Regions from separate parts of the Homo sapiens genome. Here region 1 is linked to region 2. Evidence: promoter capture Hi-C in 16 types of primary human blood cells and fetal thymus (Javierre and others, 2016). All regions are on one chromosome and are shown on one strand. The core of a region is centred on a gene start or on the middle of the fragment in contact, and the rest is flanking DNA. Distances in the headings are between cores, read along the strand shown.

The links. The method cuts DNA at HindIII sites, captures the fragments that hold promoters and counts their contacts. A CHiCAGO score of 5 or more calls a contact.
Region 1: the fragment with the promoter of ZNF496 here is called in contact with the fragment with the promoter of PGBD2 in region 2 in 1 of 17 cell types (fetal thymus); the score reaches 7.3 in fetal thymus.

What each region holds. Positions count from the first base shown.
Region 1 is chr1:247,329,651-247,333,227 of GRCh38, reverse strand. ZNF496 (zinc finger protein 496) reads left to right here and starts at 1,361. Exons shown (of 10, transcript NM_032752.3): 1 at 1,361-1,438; 2 at 1,581-1,796; 3 at 3,147-3,262. It overlaps ZNF496-DT (ZNF496 divergent transcript), which reads right to left and starts at 1,174. Exons shown (of 3, transcript NR_168399.1): 1 at 1-1,174. RefSeq lists silencers at 794-1,273, 1,404-1,513, 2,084-2,323 and an enhancer at 1,187-1,481. The HindIII fragment of the contact is 9,597 bases long and covers 1-3,577 here.
Region 2 is chr1:248,904,165-248,907,653 of GRCh38, reverse strand. It overlaps PGBD2 (piggyBac transposable element derived 2), which reads right to left and starts at 1,419. Exons shown (of 3, transcript NM_170725.3): 1 at 1,312-1,419. RefSeq lists silencers at 974-1,063, 1,474-1,533 and enhancers at 1,154-1,343, 868-1,789. The HindIII fragment of the contact is 4,441 bases long and covers 1-3,454 here.

The DNA.
Region 1 (3,577 bases), core at 112-2,611, 1.6 Mb after region 2:
TCTGCGTGGCCCTGCCCGGCATCTGGCTGTCATCCGGGAAACAATCACTGTTCACAAACAAGGGCTTCACTCCTTCGCTCGCTCCATCTCCTGCTAAAGTCAGAATGTGAACACTGACAAACAGCGGCTCCCAGTAACTCTGCTAGTCAGAAGTGATTATTCCAGCAGTTCAGAGGAGGAAGTGGCGGTGCCCAGGGCCACGGGATTAGAAGAGCAACGGAGCTAAAGGATCCCGTGCCTCAGTCCAACCACCTTGTTCCCACTTACTCAGCCGGGCCACTTTCTTTGGAGAAACTGATTTCCTTCTGCTTGCCCTTGAAAGGGGATCCGAAGGAAATCGGAGCTACCGGCAGTAGCTACCCTCCGGAAGACGGAGAATCTTCTCCACCTTCTCCTCTGCGTAGGAGAATCCAATTTCGGTGCAGAGCAGATGGCGAAGGGGCCATGGGAATCAGACCTGCTCAGGGACCGGGTTCGCACTTTCTCTCAAGCTCTGGAGCCTGAAAAATGAGCATTCCCCGGGGACGACCCATGTAAGAATTTGGGCTATATTCAGCATAGTGCAGCGGCCAGCAGCCCTGTCTCGGGGTGGGGTCCGGAGGCCCCCATTTCTGCTTGCCCCTCACTGCCACATAACCTTGGGTCAGAGTCCCTCATCCTCTCCCTCCGCCACTGTGCACAGCTGCAACCGTGTTCACTTCAGCGAGCAACGAGCCCCGTGACCCCCACTCAGGGTCAGGACTCACCGCAGCCCCTCTGCGCAAGCCCCGAGGCTCTGCGTGGCCTCCGGATGCGCGGCCTTTCCTAACCCGGGGACTCCGCACGTGGGCGCCAGGCCCGGAAGGCGCGGATGTGAGCGCTACCTTCGGCGTCCCGCAGCGGCAGGAGGGGCTGGGCGGCCCGGGCTTCGGCTGGCGGCGGGGGGGGGGTCGCAGGGGAGTCTGAAATGAGGCGGCCGACGGCGCGCGGGGCCTCCTCTCTCCGCTCCATCCCGCACCCCCAATTCCAGCTTCCATCCCCAGCCGCGACTCCCGGTCGGCCGTTCCGGGCGTCCACTGGCCGCGTGTCCTGGGGGCGCCAGAGAAGGAGAACAGCGGAGAAAAGAGCCCCGGGCCGACCTTCCGGACCGGCGGGCCCGCGGGGAAGCCCGGGCGCGGCGACGTGGCTGACCCACAAAGCCCCCGGCCCGGCGGCCAGGCCCAGGCGCGCGCGGAGCGGGGCGGGCCGGGGGTGTCGGATGTCACCCCCAGCGCACACCTCGGCCGGGGGGCGGGGGAGCGAACCACTGAGATGCGGAGACCTCCCCAGTCCTAGAGCGGAGCAGGAAGTGTCCCAGGGGAGGGAGCCGGAGGGCTCCGGCCTTTCCTTTCCTCGGCGTCCGGCGGGCTCCCGCGGCGGCCAGGCCTGCGCCGCCCGCCAACAGGGACGCGCCGCGGCGGTGAGTGCACCCCGGCTCCCGCGGCCGGCCCCGCCCCGCCCTCCTCGGCCCGCGCCCGGCCTCCGCGGCGCCGCCTCCCAGCCCAGAGCCCAGCGCTCAGGAAGGTGCGGGCGGGGGAGAAAGCAACACCATTGTTTTTCAGGCGCCTCCATTTGCCCCCGAGCCGAGCCGTGGCTTTCCGGATGATCGGGAGACGCGGTCTGGACGGGCCGGGAAAGGAGCCGGGCGCCTGCGGAGACCCCGCCTCAGCGAGTACGCCCGGCCGGGCGGGCTGGGAGGATGAGGACGGCTGCCCTGGACTTCCGCCGCCACAGGAGGGTTTTCGGCCGGACGCCGGGAGGGAGCTCCAGGCTGTGAGGTGAGGAGCCCGGAGCCGGCGAGACGGGAGACGCGCGTGTGAGGGAGACCGAGGGCGCGGAGGGCGGGCTCCCCCTTCCCTGGCCCACAGCGACCTTCTCCTTCCCTTTCTGCCGATCCAGCTCGGTCCCTCCTCCGCGAAAGGCTGGGAGCTCGCTCCGCCCCTGCGGGGCCCTCCTCCGCCTCACTCACGTTAGTTCATTCATCAGGCATCTCCTCCGAGCCTCCGACGCGCCAGGTGCCGCCGTGACAAAGACGGACGCGGCCGTCTGGTTGGAGACGATCCGAGTGGCAGCCCGGGTGGGCGCCGGTGCTCGGGGGGGCGGGCCTGAGTAGTCCTGGGCGCTGCAGGTGTGTGATGGGCGCCGCAGGGGGCCGCCGAGCAGGGCGGGCGGGGCCCACCCCGGGCTCCAGATGCCGGAGCCGCCCTGGAAGCGATCCGGTGGTGGGGAGCGCTGTAATGCGTCCAGCCCGACGCCGCCACGGCCCCCATATGGGTTTCTGTGTATGTTGTTACTTTGGAAAGCAAAGAGATTCAGAGCAGTGGGTGTTTCTGGAACCACTCAGTTGTTCCGTAGCTTTTCTGGCATCACTTGTCTTTCTGTGAAATGGGAGTGAGGCCCGAGTCCCCCTTCCCACCTTGTGAGCTGTTGGAGGTTAAGACGCGGCCACGCTGGACAACCTCGTGCAGATGGGGGAGTGGCAGGCACTGCCGGTCCTAAGGATCACAGAGGCCTGATGGCAGAGAAGGGGACTGTGAGTGTCCCCATGTGCCCTTTCACGGGCCCAGCGTTCTAAAGTGGGAATCATAAACACCAGGTATACTGGTTGCTGGTCTCTTGCCACCCTAGTTGTGGCAAAAGTGTCGGCTAGTTGTCTGCACACCAGCGGGGAGGTGTAGGGACCCCTGAGTCCCACCTTGGGGGTGTGGCAGCTGCAGTGTCCAGGGGTTCTTTGAGGGCTGAGCTGTGCAGTGACGGACCCACTTTTCTGTCCTGGCCGAGGAAGGGCTTTGGCGAGTGTGCAGTTGCCTTCAATGTGGTTTGAAGAGGGCAAGGATAGAGAATAGGGTGGAGGCGAGGTTGAAGGTCAGGGCAGAATTGGCAGAAGGCTCATAGGAAACCACTGATACTTCTAGATGCAGTGTTATTTGTCCCTGGTAGACTGCATGTAGCTGTCTCATGTGATGTTTTCCCTTGCCTCCCATTGCAGACTCTGCTGGGCAAAGCTGATTCTGGCTGGGTTGTCCATCCAGCACGCAGCACCATCAGCCCTCTGCCACCAGAAGGGTGGATTTTCCATTCCTGGATGTGCTTGAAGGCTCATCCGATGCATGTCTTTGTCATTCCAGCTCCATTTGTAAAGGTCTTAATAACAAGAACAGTGACTTCGGCTCCGGAGCTTCAAGATAGTGGCCTGCTTGGCCTGCCCATCTCGGATCTCTCCAGGAGGACCCAGCCACCCAAGGTACCAGAGCGTCTTGATTACATCTGCATGTGGCGCTGTTGGTTTCCTGGGATGCTCAAAACAGCAGTGTCACGTTGAAATGCCACCACTTTCTCCCAGATTTCCTGTCTTGTTCATCCAGTCACCCACTTAACGGGAATCCACACGTAATGGTACTGATGGGGGGAGGGCATCTTTCTGTCTGTTTCATCCTGTGTGTAAAGACCAGCCACACCAACACTCCCTACCTTTCCCAGGGCTTCTCCAAAGGGCTGGTCTCTGAGGGCATTGACAGTTTCCTTGTCACTGTCCCCCAGAAATGACCACAGGAGACCA
Region 2 (3,489 bases), core at 170-2,669:
AAAAGTCATCACCATTCTCTAGTCTCAATAAACAAGGGGCGCAATGCACCATGAAAAGCCACAGGGACCTCTGCCCTGGAAAGCCGGGTATTGTCCAAGGTTTCTCCCCATGTGATAGTCTGAAATACAGCCTCGTGGGAAGAGAAAGACCTTACCGTCCCCCAGCCCGACACCCGTCTGTGCTGAGGTGGATTAGTAAAAGAGGAAAGCCTCTTGCAGTTGAGATAGATGAAGGCCACTGTGTCCTGCCTGCCCCTGGGAACTGAATGTCTCCGTACAAAACCTGATTGTACATTTGTTCAATTCTGAGATAGGAGAAAAACTGCCCTATGGCAGGAGGCAAGACATGTTGGCAGCAATGCTGCCCTGTTATTCTTTATTCCACTGAAATGTTTGGGCAGAGAGAAACATAAATGTGGCCTACGTGCACATCCAGGCATAGTACCTCCACTTGAACTTATGACATAAATTCTTTTGCTCACATGTTTCTTTGCTGACCTCCTTATCACCCTGCTCTCCTACCGCATTCCTCTTGCTGAGATAATGAAAACAATAATCAATAAAAACTGAGGGAACTCAGAGACCGGTGCTGGTGCAAGTCCTTGGTATGCTGAGTGCCGGTCCCCTGGGCCCACTGTGGTTTCTCTATACTTTGTCTCTGTGTCTTATTTCTTTTCTCAGTCTCTCCTCCCACCTGACAAGATATCCCACAGGTGTGGAAGGGCAGGCCACCCCTTCACCCAACAGCTCAGAATGGCTTTTGTGGGATACGGAAGAACCCTCCCTTCTCTTCACCTCACTAGCAAAAGAGAAAGAAGGGCAAACAAAGACCCTCAGAAACCTCAGCAGCTTCCCAGGCAGACGCAGTTAAAAACGACCCGCCCCCAGCGCGCCCCGGCACAGAGCCACCCCGCCCCAGGATGTGACGTGGCATTCGCAGTCCCGCCGCCAGCCTCAGGCCGCCCGCCTCCTTCGTCCCGCCCACCCCGCCCGAGCCTGCCCTGGTCCCTCCCACCCCGCCCTGAATCCATCCCTCTTTAGCCCGACCCCGCCCTGGTCCCCACCCACCCCGCTCCGCCTCCCGCTCAGCCGGCCCGGCCTCCGGCCTCGCACCCCAACCCGCAGAAGGAGCGCCCCCTTGCGGCCCTCGGAATCCCATTGTTCCTGTCCTGGTCCCGCCAGCCCACCGTCGGCGCGCAGTGGTGAGGACGAACTCCTCGGATGCCGCCGTTGAGAAAACGCAACATCAACGCCAACCACTCCTGTACTCAAGCGAAGCCCTGCCTGCAGCGCGAGCACACTGAGGCCTACCTGCCCTACCCCAGACGGAGACTCGCGAGCCCGAACCGGACCATGAGCCGCGCCGAATCGGAGCGCTGCGCCTGCGTTGGCGTCGGGCGTCGCGGCCGCGCAACGTCCGGCACCAGAGGGCTCGCTGCACCTCGGCCGGCCTTCCATGCCACGCCCCCGGGCCAGGCCACGCCCCGGCCCGAGCGACCATCGAGACTCCAGGACCTCCGCGGCGCCTAGAGGGATCCCGAAAACGCCTGCGAGGCCAGAACGGCCGAAATAACCCACCCCAGCGGGCCAGCTCTTCCCGCCACTCTCCCTTACCCTCCCACCCCTGTCCTACTTTGGAAACCTTCCTCGCTCCTTCCTAATCAGGAGAGCATGGGGACTTTCTAGGGTAGTGGTTCTCAAATGTGCCCCCAATCTAACAGCAGCTTCACCTGGGAAATCGATGGAAATGCAAATCTTGGGACCCCACTACAGGCCTTCTGAGTAAGAAACTCTGAGGGTGTGCCCAATAATCGGCCTTACCAACCCTGAAGGTAATTGTGGTACAAACTAGGGCTTGAGAACCACTGCTGTATGGCAGGGTTTCTCAACCTCCACTCTTGACATTTTGGGCCTGGATAATTCTTTGTTGAGAGGGAAGGAGGCTGTCCTGTGCATTATAGGAGGCAGGGTCACGGATAAAATACAGTTAAATTTGAGTTTCAGGTAACAGTGTTGTTCATCTAAGATTCACATTTAACTGGAAGTCCCTGTATTTCATCTGGCTACCTTGCCTACCTATATTTTTACTTGGTAAAAATAGAACCTTAATTGTAGGATATTGAGCATCCCTAGCAACTAAATGCCAGTAGCACACCACACTCTCTCCACTCTAGTTATGACAAATAAAAGTATCTCCCCCTACTTCTTGAGAATCACGGCTCTATAAGGACTTTGTCCAGCTGAAACCCAGTAGCCCATTAGGTATATAGGACAGTGTACTCCGCAGAAAACTGCCTTGCCCTGAAAGGCTTTGAACACAGAAATCCCTGGGACCAAACCGTGTTAACATTCAAAAAGAGGGCCACTTAGTGAAGAGTTTGTATTTGCTTCTCCACACTGACACTTCACAAAGGTTTTTTGGTCACTGTAAAGTGTGTTCCAAAACCCCTGGATCAGAAGAAAAAAATCATGCTCATTTGTGAGATTCTGAAGTGAAGGGCACGTATTAGTTTGTCATTCATTCCACATATGAGCAAATTGAGAAAACAGGCAATAAGCCATGGGAAAATGGGAGTGCTACTCTAGGTAAGGTAGGGTGGTGTTTCTAACTTGCTTTGTTCCCCAGATCCTGTGTCTCATTCATTCATTCAAGTGTTAAATGAGTGTCTTCTCTGTGACAATCACTCCTCTGAGCAGTGATGTTAGAACAGTGAAAAAGAAAAGGCACAAGAGAAAAACCCTCTTGTCATTTCAGTGGGAGAACCAGACAGTAAACAAAATATATGGCATGTCAAAGTGGAAAGTGCTAGGAAGAAAATAAAGGAAGCAAAGGGGACCAATAAGACTGTTGTGAATTCAGTTTTAAATAATTTGGTCAGGGAAGGTTGGTAAGTGAGAAGGTTGTATTTGAGGGAAAAGCCAAAGAATATGAAGAGCAAATTCCCCATGCAGAATTCAAGGGGGAAAATATTTGAAGCAGAGAGAATGGCATGTGCAAATGCTCTGAGGCGAAGCAAGCCTAGCACATTTGAGAATGGCTGGAGACAAAAGAAAGTCAAAGAAATGAGGTCAAAGAGGGGGTGAGTTCAACAAGGAGTAATAAGGTGCTTGCTGGCTGTTTCTTCCATACCTTTATGATCCAGAGAGAATTCTCACTGCAATTTGGATACTTGCATATGTAATTTAAAGTTAATAAAAAGATCGGGACCAAGTGTAAGTGTTTATGGAGCTGCAAAGAGTCCATCTAGACATTTTCAGTGCATTGCTTTGAATAAAGCTACGTTTAAAAACAAAGTCAAATCTTTGAAAACAATGTCAAATTTGGGGTAGAATGGCAGAAGAACTGCATGATAGGAATTGGGAAAAAAAAAAAAATTTAGCCCGTTAAGCTAGAATCCTTTGAGGAAAATACATATTTTGAAGTTCTTTAATTGAGAAATAGGCTAAATAAGCTTTAAGGAAAAAATTGGGGAAAATATTTAAATTATG